Regions from separate parts of the Homo sapiens genome. Here region 1 is linked to region 2. The links are contacts of gene promoters, found by promoter capture Hi-C in blood cells and fetal thymus (Javierre and others, 2016). All regions are on one chromosome and are shown on one strand. The core of a region is centred on a gene start or on the middle of the fragment in contact, and the rest is flanking DNA. Distances in the headings are between cores, read along the strand shown. Region 1 overlaps AMER1 (APC membrane recruitment protein 1). Region 2 holds the start of ARHGEF9 (Cdc42 guanine nucleotide exchange factor 9).

The links. Contacts are between HindIII fragments. The CHiCAGO score rates a contact against its expected background, and 5 or more counts as called.
Region 1: a fragment that was not itself captured here is called in contact with the fragment with the promoter of ARHGEF9 in region 2 in 1 of 17 cell types (monocytes); the score reaches 5.1 in monocytes.

Annotation. Positions count from the first base shown.
Region 1 is chrX:64,187,941-64,195,005 of GRCh38, reverse strand. AMER1 (APC membrane recruitment protein 1) reads left to right here. Exons shown (of 2, transcript NM_152424.4): 2 at 1,622-7,065. The coding sequence starts at 1,720. The coding sequence ends at 5,127. Among named protein-coding and RNA genes, the nearest start is that of AMER1, 14 kb to the left of the region's middle. The HindIII fragment of the contact is 3,365 bases long and covers 2,684-6,048 here.
Region 2 is chrX:63,782,836-63,789,842 of GRCh38, reverse strand. It overlaps ARHGEF9 (Cdc42 guanine nucleotide exchange factor 9), which reads left to right and starts at 4,629. Exons shown (of 10, transcript NM_001353921.2): 1 at 4,629-4,727. The coding sequence starts at 4,698. MIR1468 (microRNA 1468) reads left to right here and starts at 3,756; the gene lies at 3,756-3,841. The HindIII fragment of the contact is 6,142 bases long and covers 2,999-7,007 here.

The DNA.
Region 1 (7,065 bases), core at 3,117-5,616, 410 kb before region 2:
CCTGCTCTTTTCTTTTCTGGATAACCAGCTGTTATCTTGCTCCAATTTTAATATTCAGTTATGCAGAGTGTTCTTTATGGAAGCTTGGATCATCACACTGATGATTCAAGTGTCAAGCCAAGCAAGGCAGCAGGCACAAAATTAATGTTTGCAAGACAGAACCAGGGGCTCCAAGGCTAGAGTGTAGCTGCCAGCCTCTTTCCATGCTCAGTGCTGGTCCACAGTCTTCCACTTTAGGTGAATGTGTGAGTCTTATTATTATGGCAAGCAATCACAGGCCTGGTGTACTGTCCAGCTGTTCTTGGACCAAGGGTGCTTGCTTCTCTCTCCCTCTCTTACTCTTCCTTCCCTCCCCTTCCCCTTCCCCTCTCCCCTCTCCTCCCAGATTCCCCCATCTGCTGGTGCCACTCTACAGAGAGGGGACAAATTGGTGAGGGACTTCCCAGGGAGGGGTCATTGGGTTTTAGCAGGCTGGTCACTGAGCTAGCGGATGACCAGAGGTGCAGAGGTATATTGTGGTGGGTAGTGGCTAGGTCTTGTTTTTATTCCATCTCTGTTGGTATTTGGGCATTTGGAGGATTGAGAGCCTTGACCAGAAGGGTGTGGCTTGCACCAGGTTTATTTATTTAAAAAGCCATTGGGAACCTATCTCACACACCAGGAATATGAATCATGTAGGGCCTTCAAGGAGTTCCCTTCCTAGATAGGGAGCTAGATGGGGACAAAAATAATAAGAGGAGGAGAGTAGAGGAGAAACAGTCCACCTCATGGTTCTCAAGTGGAATTTGGGGTTCCATTGATGACCGCATTAAAGTATCTTCCCAGCAGGACAGCCAATAGAGGGTCTGGCTTAGACCCACCCTCATATCACCTCTCTGAGGGAGAGATATTGATAGGCCTCTTGAATGGCGAATATTGAAGCCCAGAGAGTACCTTTCTTGAGGCTCCCATTTCATTGTCTTAGCAGGTTCTAGATTGCAGACCTACTTTGTGGATGTGTGAGGCTCCTATTCTGAGATTCTGAAGCCTGAGCATGGTTCTGCAGGCAATTTAGGAAGCTTTGGATGGGAGGTGAAACTTCAGGTCCACTTTTCAGTCTCAGACAAAATGTCAGTGAGAGCCCAGACTAATATGAAACTGAAGCTTGAATCCAACAGAGCCCTGTGAGGACTCAATGGACTGTTTTGCCAGATGGTTTTCAAAAATTCTGTGATGTTGGAGCCAACATCCCTTTTGCCTTTCTTGTCTCTCCCTATCCTCATCCCCTTTGATAATTGATAATACCTCCCACAGCCAATAGCACCACTAGGCCTTTCACACAACTGCAGGTCCCCCTGCCCAGTGGTCCCCTGAGCTTAGGATGGTCTGAAGGGAGTGGACCCAGCAAGAAGGTAGGGGATGAAGGCTTCTTGTTGCTCAGTGTAGAGTTTTGCTTCCTTGGGGCCCAGAGAGAGCTGGCCCAGCAAGCCAAGCATATCGAGTGGATTAAGATTTGCCCCACATTTTCCATCATTTTCTTTCTTGTTCCACTCAAGCCTGACGTCCGGTGAAAGCAAACCCAGCCTGGATGCTTGCTCACTAGTATCTGTCTCTCTGTCTTTGTCTCTCCTATCTCCTCCAGACCCCACTGTGATGCTTCCTGACTGATAATGTTATAACAGTGCCTGGAAGCCTGAGGCTGCATTTCCAGCTGGACGTACCTCAGTTGTCCCCATCATCATGGAGACCCAAAAGGATGAAGCTGCTCAGGCCAAGGGAGCTGCAGCCTCTGGGAGTACCCGTGAACAAACAGCAGAAAAAGGAGCCAAGAACAAGGCAGCTGAGGCGACAGAAGGACCAACCTCAGAGCCATCCTCATCCGGCCCAGGTAGGCTGAAGAAAACTGCCATGAAACTCTTTGGTGGCAAGAAGGGTATCTGTACTCTGCCTAGTTTCTTTGGAGGGGGACGGAGCAAAGGTTCTGGGAAAGGCAGCTCCAAGAAAGGTCTCAGCAAGAGCAAGACCCACGATGGCCTGAGTGAAGCAGCCCATGGCCCTGAAGATGTTGTCAGTGAAGGAACTGGCTTCTCCCTGCCTTTGCCTGAGTTACCCTGCCAATTTCCCAGCTCTCAGAGTGCCCATGGGGCTTTGGAGACAGGCTCCAGATGTAAGACATCTGTGGCTGGAGCCACAGAGAAAGCTGTGGCTGAGAAGTTTCCCTCTATGCCCAAGCCAAAGAAAGGCCTAAAAGGCTTTTTTAGCAGTATCCGCCGTCACCGGAAGAGCAAGGTCACTGGGGCTGAGCAAAGTGAGCCAGGGGCCAAGGGGCCTGAGAGGGTCAGAGCCAGGCCTCATGAGCACGTGAGCTCAGCCCCTCAGGTGCCCTGCTTTGAGGAGACCTTCCAAGCCCCTAGAAAGGAAAATGCTAACCCCCAAGATGCCCCTGGGCCAAAAGTTTCTCCAACACCAGAACCTTCTCCACCAGCTACTGAGAAAATGGCCTGTAAAGATCCAGAAAAACCCATGGAGGCCTGTGCCTCAGCACATGTGCAACCCAAGCCTGCCCCTGAAGCCAGTAGCCTAGAGGAGCCCCATAGCCCAGAAACAGGGGAGAAGGTAGTAGCAGGAGAGGTAAACCCACCCAATGGCCCTGTGGGGGACCCACTGAGCCTCTTGTTTGGGGATGTGACATCCCTGAAAAGCTTTGATTCATTGACAGGTTGTGGTGACATAATAGCAGAACAGGACATGGACAGTATGACAGACAGCATGGCCTCTGGGGGCCAGAGAGCAAACCGAGATGGGACCAAGCGAAGTTCCTGCCTGGTGACCTACCAAGGAGGTGGGGAGGAGATGGCCTTGCCAGATGATGATGACGAGGAGGAAGAAGAGGAAGAAGAGGTGGAATTAGAGGAGGAAGAAGAGGAGGTTAAGGAGGAGGAAGAAGATGATGACTTAGAATATCTGTGGGAAACTGCCCAAATGTATCCACGGCCCAATATGAACCTGGGCTACCATCCCACCACATCCCCAGGCCACCACGGCTACATGCTCCTTGACCCAGTTAGGTCTTATCCTGGCCTAGCCCCTGGGGAACTTTTGACTCCTCAGAGTGACCAGCAAGAATCCGCCCCCAATAGTGATGAAGGTTATTATGACTCCACCACACCTGGATTTGAGGATGATTCAGGTGAGGCCCTGGGGCTTGTCCGCAGGGATTGTCTACCCCGAGACAGCTACAGTGGAGATGCCCTATATGAGTTCTATGAGCCAGATGACAGCCTTGAGAACTCTCCACCTGGAGATGACTGCCTTTATGACCTCCATGGTCGAAGCTCTGAGATGTTTGACCCCTTCTTAAACTTTGAGCCCTTTTTGTCCTCCCGGCCACCTGGGGCAATGGAGACAGAGGAAGAACGGCTAGTGACCATCCAGAAACAGTTGTTGTATTGGGAGCTTCGGCGGGAGCAGCTTGAGGCCCAGGAGGCACGTGCCCGAGAAGCTCATGCCAGGGAGGCCCACGCCAGGGAGGCCTATACTCGAGAGGCTTATGGCAGGGAAGCCTATGCCAGGGAGGCCCACACTTGGGAAGCTCATGGCAGGGAGGCCAGAACCCGAGAAGCCCAGGCCCGAGAGGTTCGTTGTAGAGAGACTCAAGTCCGAGAGACCCAGGCCCGGCAGGAGAAGCCCGTCTTAGAGTATCAGATGAGGCCCTTAGGCCCATCAGTGATGGGCCTGGCAGCAGGGGTATCAGGGACCTCTCAGATTTCCCACCGGGGAATTACCTCAGCTTTCCCCACCACTGCAAGCAGCGAGCCAGACTGGAGGGACTTCCGTCCTCTGGAGAAGCGTTATGAAGGAACCTGCTCCAAGAAAGATCAAAGTACCTGCCTGATGCAGCTCTTCCAGAGTGATGCCATGTTTGAGCCAGACATGCAAGAAGCAAATTTTGGAGGATCTCCCAGGAGGGCCTACCCTACTTATTCACCCCCTGAAGATCCAGAGGAAGAGGAGGTTGAGAAGGAAGGGAATGCCACTGTGAGTTTCTCACAGGCCCTGGTAGAGTTCACCAGCAATGGGAACCTCTTTTCCAGCATGTCCTGCAGCTCTGACTCTGACTCATCTTTCACTCAAAACCTCCCTGAGCTGCCTCCCATGGTGACCTTTGACATCGCTGATGTGGAACGGGATGGGGAAGGCAAGTGTGAAGAGAATCCTGAGTTCCACAATGATGAAGATCTTGCAGCCTCCTTGGAAGCCTTTGAGCTGGGCTACTATCACAAACATGCCTTCAACAACTACCATAGTCGATTCTACCAAGGCCTGCCCTGGGGTGTGAGCAGCCTCCCTCGATACTTGGGACTGCCTGGCCTGCACCCTCGACCTCCACCTGCTGCTATGGCCCTCAACAGGAGAAGCCGCTCTCTCGACACTGCAGAGACCCTGGAGATGGAGCTCTCCAATTCCCACTTGGTCCAGGGCTACCTCGAGTCTGATGAGCTGCAGGCCCAGCAGGAAGATTCAGATGAGGAGGACGAAGAGGAGGAAGAAGGAGAATGGAGCCGAGACAGTCCCCTTTCCCTCTATACTGAACCCCCAGGGGCCTATGATTGGCCTGCTTGGGCTCCCTGTCCTCTTCCAGTGGGGCCAGGTCCTGCCTGGATAAGCCCCAACCAGTTGGACAGGCCTTCCAGCCAGTCTCCATATAGGCAGGCAACCTGTTGCATACCTCCTATGACCATGTCAATATCACTATCAGTGCCAGAGTCAAGGGCACCTGGGGAATCTGGGCCTCAACTAGCTCGTCCCTCACACCTACACCTGCCCATGGGCCCTTGCTATAACCTCCAGCCACAGGCCTCCCAGAGCATGAGGGCCAGGCCTCGAGATGTGCTGCTGCCTGTTGATGAGCCCAGTTGCTCTTCCAGTTCTGGAGGCTTCAGCCCCAGCCCTCTACCACAGGCCAAGCCTGTGGGCATCACCCATGGCATTCCTCAGCTGCCCAGGGTCCGGCCTGAGCACCCCCAGCCTCAGCCCACTCACTATGGGCCTTCCAGCCTTGACCTGTCAAAGGAGAGGGCTGAGCAAGGTGCCTCTCTTGCCACCAGCTACTCCTCCACTGCCATGAATGGAAACCTAGCCAAGTAGTTATTATCAATTCTGGAGTAGGGACACGGGGCCTGAGCATGTGAATGGGGATCAGGGGTTGGGCAGAAGGGTGGGGGGGTGGGGGTTGTTGTTTAACTTGAAAACCCTTTGGGCCAAGGAAAACTCCTGTGAGTTTTCACCTTGGTTTTCCCACTTGCCTCTTCTGCCATCTATGGCCACGTTCAACTCAAGTGCATCTGCCCAGGGAGGCTGCTGCTGCTACTGCACTCCAGTTTTTGCTTTCGAGGTTTCTTCTTGTGACCCACGCTGGGTTTGGGATGCTGTAATTTTGTGCCTATTCCAGTTGCCAAGTTAGTGATTATATATATATATATATATATATATATATATATATATATATATACACACACACACACACACACACACACACACATACATACACACACACACACAAACACACATGCACACACATATATAGCATGCATCCTTGACACAGGCTAAACCTTTAGTGCCCCCTGCCCCTTTCCCCCAATGAATGATGAACCACTGATTAGCAGCCAAGTCTGCATTGCCTCCCGCTTGGGGAAGTGGGGCTTATTTGCTATTAGCAATGTGAAATTATGGTACAGATCCTCCCCACCCCTATTCCTTTTGGCCTGGCATAGCTGCCATCATTATATCAGATGACTATAAGCTATTCATCCCAGCTAGCTGTCCTTAGAGAGGATCAAGTAGCGTGTGTCTCACAGCCTATCGCTGTGGACTTTGGCATCATGACCAGATGGGGGCCTTTTAACTGTCCTGCCATAGCTTGGGTTAAAGACAAAAATGCTAATCCCCTTGATGGAGTGATAAAATTCATCCATTTGCAAACAGAAGACAAAACAAGGTTCTGTTGTGGACACTGCCATAGAGTGTTGAGCTCCGGAATGATAGGATTTTTTTTCCTTCTTTTAAGCTTGTGACTACCTGAGTTGCAGATGCTTTTGAATTTTTGTTCTTTTTTCCTCTAAAGGAAATTTTCATAATCTCATCACAAGGAACACGGTCTTTTAATTGAGATAAGGGAAGAGAAGCAACCTAAATTAGGCTTGACTATAGGGGCTGGGGTTTTTGTGGAGTGTAGGGGAAAGATAGAAAATGAGGGTCCATTTATCACAGCCAGCAAGAAAGGGGATTTCAGACCATGCAGAGCTTAAGGTATCTCAGTTTCTTAAAAGGGAAAACTCCCTTCTCAAGCCTCCCAACACAAAATGTTCCTTAAGCCTTGCCCATCCCATCATTTGGACTCTGTAATAAGGCCCCAGGTTTGCACTCCCAAGACAGGATACCAAAGGCATCTCAGCTGCTGTTCTGGGCCCTTTAAAGAGCTTTTATCTTCCAATTAGCCGAGTCCTTAGCATCATCAAATGACAGGGCTTCTTGGCAGTTGCAGCCCTTTATGGAATGAATGGCACCCTCCCTTCTCCTGCATCCATGCAGTTTTCATGTTAAACTAGGTTGGAAATACTGGTGGGGAAGAGCTTGCTGTCAGGAAGACATTGGAACAGGCTAATCTTGCCAAGCTCAACCTCTCATTAATCACCTGTAGGAGAGGGTTCCTTTTACATGTCTTTATTGGAAATGGCATATGGAACATTTTTTGCTTGGCTGTGTTCACTCAAATTATGATTATTGCACCCTCGCCCTCACATCCCACCATCTCCATGCCTGTTGAGAGAAGAAGTCAACAGGGTTCTTGCCATTCCTGAGATATGGCAATTTAGCTTGGGAACAGATGCTGTTTGCCCCCTAAGTCAAGGTGACTTTGTGGGCAAACTGTTTCTTGGCCAGGGGATGTGTCCATGCTGGTCTTTGTCACCATTTCTCAGATTGGGGTTGGCCCAGTGCCCTTACTCACAAATAGCAGACCTGGCTGGTAGAAGCTGCACCCCTGGAAGCACCACATGAATTTGCATGGCACTAACACCACCACTC
Region 2 (7,007 bases), core at 3,380-5,879:
GTTTTTTCCCTCTTCAAACCCGAGCTTATGCCAGTCTCCCCACATTAGCCAAAGTGCCACCATCTACCCAGTATTGCAAACCAAAAACCTAAAGTTTTCTGGAATTTCTTCATTTTTTTCCCTCACACTCCACATCCAATCCATCATCAAGCTCTGTTATTTCTATCTCTAAAATATATCTCAAATCTTTTTACCTCTGTCCATCATCTTTACTGTTCTTCCAGTCCAAGTCACCATCATCTTTCCCCTGTAAAAACAACAGTTTTTTAAAAGACAATGTAAATCTTTTAAAAATGTAAATCGGATCAGTTAATTCTCCTGCTTAAAAATCCCTCAGTTCCCACGCCTCTCTCCCTGTAGTTCATAGAATAAATCCAGATTGTTTTACTATGGTCTTCAAGGCTTTATATGACCTGGCTTCTGTCAAATTTGTCTCCTATCATTCTCCCTCTTTCTTTCTAGGTTTCAGCCTCATTGCGCTTCTAATTCCTGCAACATTACATGCCAGTTCAATCCTTTGGGCTTCTGTACTTTCTGTTTTCTGTGCCTGGAATACTTTCCCCCTACCTCTTACATGGCTGGCTCGCCTTAAGCCTTTAGGCCTTAATTTGAATACCTTCTCCTTGGAGAAGCCTTCCTTATCTAAACTCCCTTTCCTCCCCCAGAGTTACTCTATCCCTTCACTTTCTTTCTTTTATAGCACTTATCACCATCTGTATTAGCACATTTGCTTACCAGATTTAGTTGTTTATTGAATAGAAATGAGGGCATGAACTCTGTCCATCTTGTTCACTGCTATGGCATCAGTGCTTAACATACTATACCTGGCACATTGTAGGCACACATATTTATTGATTTTATGAATAAATAAAAATAGGTAGTAATGTATGTACGAAATATTGCTTTGTAAAGATAAGAGTTTATAATATACACGTTAGTCTTGGGCCTCCAATATTTGGAATTATAGTAGTTGTGTCCTTTCAGTATTTACCCGTTTTCACTACTGCACTCCACTCACTGGAGAATCAAGGGTTTGAGTTTTTATCCCAGCTCAGCCACTAACTTACTTTGTGACTTTGGGAGCTCCTTCCATTCCCTGGGGCTATATCTTCTCATCAGTAAAATGAGACTGTTGGAGGAAATAATCTTTACAATTATTAAGGCCAACTCTGATATCTATGGATCAGTGATTCTTTAACACTCTTAGGTACACAATTAGTGTGTTCATTGTATGACTGGAGAACCTGAGTCACAGATAAGCTGGGACATGACTGTCTTTCTCTTCATTTTGCTCATGGCCCTCTACTAGAGTGGAGAGCTGGTGCCTGGCTAGGTACCAAAGAGGCTTCTGGGAGATCACAGGACTTCAAGAGAGTGAACACAGAGATTATGGAAACCCCTTTTCCAGATTTCTATTGTCCTGTCCTGAATTCTTACTGGCTTCCAGGCCCTGTGCTAAGTACTTTCCTTGGACAAATTTATCAAATCTTTGTAACTATCTTGTCAGCCCTATTCACAGATAAAGAAACTGTCAGGGCATAGAACATTGAATAATCTGCCCAAGTAAGTGGCAAAGCCAATAACTGAATACAATCCAAGTTGTTCTGACTTCAGAGATTATGCCCTACCAACTACATTATGTCTCCTCTAACTACTCATATGGTTCTAGGCAAATAGGTGCTCAAGACATAATGACTGGATTCAACAGCATCTATTTACACCTCTGGGATCAACACGTTTTTTGCAGGAGTCTCTAGGCACCTGTTTTTTGCAGGAGTCCCTAGGCTTTATATTAACACTGGCCTGTTTGCATCCAGATCCATTCTCCACTCTTCTCCTGAAAATTACATTTGTTAGATTTCCTTGCTTTCTCACTTCTTTTGTCCAATGGGAGACATGTACAGGAGATTGGTGGCTAGGAGGAAGGGAGAACCCAGGGTATTTCTCCCACCACCTGTATCAGAGAGGTGTTTTCTGGTGGTAGCTGTATTCCTCCATGGCTCCAGCTCCTCTTGAACAACTCTTCCATTCATGGCACCTGCTTCCAATAGGCTGTCCAACCCATGATTTTAGCTTCTGCATGGCTTCATCTGTTATCCGTCCATCCCTACGAGTGGTAGCAGCTTTCTGTGTTTGTTAAATGCTAGGTTGCTGCATCCTCATCCTCTGTCTGGCTTGTTAGCTCTGTAAGTGTCATGCATTAAATGCTCGCAGTTTAAAAGACCTAGGGTGGTTTTTATTTTCCTGATTGGACCATGACCGGCACAGATACTTTCCACAATTCCAGGGCTACTCACATCACATAAATTGGTTTATATCCTTCAGAGCACATATTACAATCTCTAAATATTTTTGTTTGTTTACTTATTTATTGTCTATCTCTCTTCTGTAAGTAGATTGTAAGGTCCATGAGGAACTTTGTCTTGTATCCTGAGCATCTGTCACAATGCCTGGCACACAGGGGCTAAATGATAATGTTGAATGAATGCATCCATCAAAAAATTCCAAGTTTTTATTGGGTATTTACTATGTGCCAGTCACTGTTGTAGAAGATGCAGAAATTAGTAATTCATTGCCACTGCTTCAAAAACACATAATGCCATTTAAGTGAAAGGGGACAGTAAAATGTTCATATGACCATTGTGTTAGTTCGCTAGGGCTGTGCCATAACAAAATACCACAGACTCTGTGGCTTAAACAACAGAAATTGAGTTTCTTATAATCCTGGAGGCCAGAAGTCTGAGAACAAGGTATCAGTGGGGTTGGGTCTTCTGAGGCCTCTCTCCTTGGCTTGCTGTTTAGATGACTGTCTTCTCCGAGTCATCAGATTCTGAGGTACTGGAAGGACTTCAACATATAAATTTTGGGGGAAAACAATTCAGCCCGTAACATCCAGGAAATAAAAAGATCATTTTTAATCGAGACAGTGAAATCGTAGTGCTATAGGAATCAAATGAAAGATGACAAAATCAGGGCCTGGAGGTATTCCTGGAAAGCTTTCTAAAGGTGGTGTGCCTGGTGCCAGATCTTGAACAGTCATGACAGTTTGAATGGGCTGGTTGGCAGGGGAGGTGCATCCAAGATACTGAGCATGAAAGAAGGCCCAGAGATGGGAAAGTGAGAGAACATTGTGGAATCACTGATGCCTGGGTTACCAGACTTGGGAGGGAAGTTGAAAGGTCATCCAGGGCAACCTCCCATTTGATTCAGGAATCCCTTGCCAAAGGGTCATTCAGCTTCTGCTTGTACACCTCCCATGATGGGGTGCTCATTAAGGTACTGCTTCTATCTTTGCCCAGCTCTGCATGGACAAAACAACAGGTTGGATGAAGTGCAGAAGTTGTGCTAAAAAGAAGAGGACAAATAAAGTACGTGTAACAGGCCAGTGATGTCTTCATGTCAATTATCTCCAGGAACTTCTTTCTAATATCATACTGTAACTCCTTTTACTTTGGTTGCAACCTCTGTTTTTGCAATTCTGTCTTTGCCTGACCTGCTCTTCTAGTCAGGAGCCTTGGATTCTTGTCTTGTTTGGCTGTGCTACTTTAAGCAGAAGTCTTTCAATCTCTGGGCTTCAGTGTTCAAGTCTGTAATGGTGGGCAATTAAGAATCCTTGTTGTGTCCATCTCATAGAGTTACTGTGAGGATTATAAGGGATAATAACAGATGTTAGTGTGACTGACAAAGTCAATTTTTAGCCTAAGCAAAGGTACCAGCCTGTGTTGTGTTCCCCAGAGTTGGGGGAATCATAAAGAGGTGGGTGGTTTCTCCGTTTGCCTGTTTCGCTGATGTGCATTCAACTCATTCTCAGCAAAATAAGCAAATGGAAAATTCGTCCATCAACAAGCTACCTTTCATGTTCCTAAGGGCATGAAGGAGAAGCCTGGAGTGGTGTGTGTGAGATAGAAAGGGAGAGATAGCCGAAAGAGGCTTGGAAAGCCGCAGAGGGTAAAGTCGAGGATTTATCTTTTTTTTTTCTTTAATGTGACCTTATGCCCCTTCCCTCTTCCAAACCTCCATTTATTTATCTATAACTTGGAGATACTAATGGCTGCCTCTACAGGGTTGTTCTGAGAAGTGAAAGTAATGCAGATGAAAGCTCTCAGATAGTACACAAAGAGAGAAGACCCTAGGGGAGTATGCAGAGGGAGGGTGGGGGAGGGAGGCATGAGAGTGCTGGCTTGGCTCCACTGGGGCAGGATCTTATTATTCTGGAGATTGGCACAACACCTCTGGTAACTTTGGAAAGGACTTTCCGCTGACTCGACACAATTGGGAAGCCCCACAATAAACAGCATCTAACTCCAGCGCAGCGGGAGGCAGGCAGAGGTAGCAGCTGCCTTCTCCTGGGCGGGCGGAGGCTATTCGCCCCCATCCTCTCCCTGCACCCCACCCCCACAGTTCTCAAGCCTTGGTGGGGGACAAAAGCAGCCCATTAGGACCCCCCCACACTCGCACCTCTCCCTGCCAAGACCTCTAGGAGCAGCAGGGCGGAGAGACAGAGCCTGCCGGTTGGCATGGAACAAACTGACTGAAGGCGAGGTCCGGGGCGGAGGGGATTGGGTTGTAGGGCTGTGGAGGAGGGGCGGCGGAGGGGGCGCTGGGGCTCTCGCTTGCTTCAGCCCAGCCCTTCTAGTCAGCCCGCGACAACTCGCGCCAGCTACGGGGCCTCAGAGAAGCCGGACTTCGCAAGCACCATGCAGTGGATAAGGGGCGGATCGGGAATGGTGAGTGCATGTAACCTTGGCTTCCCTTGCTTGAGCCTCTCAGTCCCCCAGCCCCACCTCCAGTTCCTCCAACGAGCCACAAGGCAGTGAGCACCCTGGCCTCTGCCCACCGCCCTAGCCGCCGTCCTTGAGACACCAGTGAGCTTGCTGTGGCCATTTTAGGAGTCCCTGCTAGCCTGCCTGCCCAGGAAACCCCCCTACCATCCCCCTCCACTTTTCTATCTCCCTCTGAGATTAAGGTGGAATAGGGGTGGGGGCCAGATTATGTGCCCAGGAACATCCCAGGGGTCACTTGGGAGGCCAGAGAGGGAAGGGGGATGGCAGAGGGCTTCTCTGGAAGCAGTGAAGCTCGCAGGAGGCTGACAAGCTGGCACGGGGTTGTGGGGGGAGGGGACGGTCACAAAGCCTGGAATTGTGGAGGGGGCCTTATGGGAGAGCTGCATGACTCCCCCCTGCCCCCAACTAGATTTTCTGCAACTCCTTTCCCTGGTCAGCCCCAGAGCATGAGGGCCAGAGAGCCACTCTCTCTCTCTCAGGAAGCTGCCTGAGGGAGCCCTAAAGCCCTTCCTTGTCCGGGCTGGGGTCACCCTGTCCACACTTGGGGCTTTGTCAAGGAGAGACAGCTGCAGAAACCCACATTCTGGAAATGGGCTTGGGCCACAGTCAGTTAACAGAGCTCTTCTCTCCCTCCCAAGGAGTGTGTGCTTGTGTGTGTGTTTAGTATAATCCTCCAACAGTTCATTTTATGCCATGGTGTTCCCTTCTCCACCTGGAGACCTTGGAATGACTTCCTTTTGCAGAGAGGAAGTGGTGGCTGCATTTTGATGCCTCTCTGACTTAGCCAGGAGCAGCTTAAGCCTGGTTAGGGCCTCTGGGGAGTGGGAGGCCCCCATGACTTTGTCCTCAGCTGGGAGGCATAAGCAAAAGGGCCTTAGAAGGCAGTTAGGTTGGGTCAGCAGGCACTGATGGCAATAGCCCACACTTCTACGCTGCCACCCATAACCCGCAGATGAAGGAAAGTAGCCTGAAGTGGTTGGGCAAAAACTGATATTTAACTCCATTTTTGCTTTCATTGTGGAGGGGAAGAGGGAATCTGGTGTGGGCTAGGACTATATTCAGAGGGGCTGTCCTCTTCCCTTCCTCAGAGTTTTGTTAGATCTCTGTTTCAGTGGTTCTTAAGGGCATCCGGTTCATATGCCTATGTGCTGGGGCTTCAAAAGACCCTTCTTCCCAGACCTCCCTACTTCCCTGAGGTCCCATTAAAGCTGCATCAAATGTTTGTAGAACCAGAAAAGATTAGAGCAGGTAAAGACCTTAGAGTCCTTGCTGTCCAGCCAGGAAAGCTGGGATCCAGAGAGTGGGAGAGACTTGCCCAGGACCACAAACTCCTTGGAGGCAAAGCTGAGTCTAGCACTTGAGTCTCCTGACTGCCACAGTCCTTCCCCACTGCTCCACCAATCATTTGCTCAAATGGTGCTGAGAGGGGAAGAAAGGAACATAGTCATGATCTTGGGAAAGGACTTTCTTCAGGATGATCTAGTGCCATTAAATTTACCTGAAAGCCGGGCGCGGCCGCCCACGCCTGTAATCCCAGCACTTTGGGAGGCCGAGGCGGGTGGATCATCTGAGGTCGGGAGCTCAAGAACAGCCTGACCAACGTGGAGAAACCCCGTCTCTACTAAAAAGACAAAATTAGCTGGACGTAGTGGCACATGCCTGAGGCTGAGGCAGGAGAATCACTCGAACCCAGGAGGGGGAGGTTGCGGTGAGCCGAGATTGTGCCGTTGCAGTCCAGCCTGAGCAACAAGAGCGAAACTCCATCTCAAAAAAAAAAAAAAAAAATTACCCGAAAAAAATCCATGCCAGTCCTGGCATTTCTGGCAACTGGGAACTGGGTCAGGGTGAGACTTACTTCCTCTCCCAAATATATTGAAGTATAGGGGCCCAGAGCCACTCATTGACAACAGGTTAAATTAATGAAGAAATTTGAAGTTTTGCCAACAGTGTATGAGAGAGAAAAGGGTGGCAGACATCTTGTGGAGACTGTGTAATTAAGGATTGGTTGATGGGGAAAAATCTCATAATATTCTTAGAGGACTGAGACAATGAATATTATATGATGAAAGCATTTATTTAGCTGTTTACCAGAATTCAAGAGATGGGAGTAGTAAACTCTATTCTTGCCTGAGAGGCAGGGAACCTCTAAGTTTTGGCCTTGCCACTAACAGAAATCCTTTGGGCCTCAGATTTCTTACCTATTAAATGCGGATGTTAATAAGC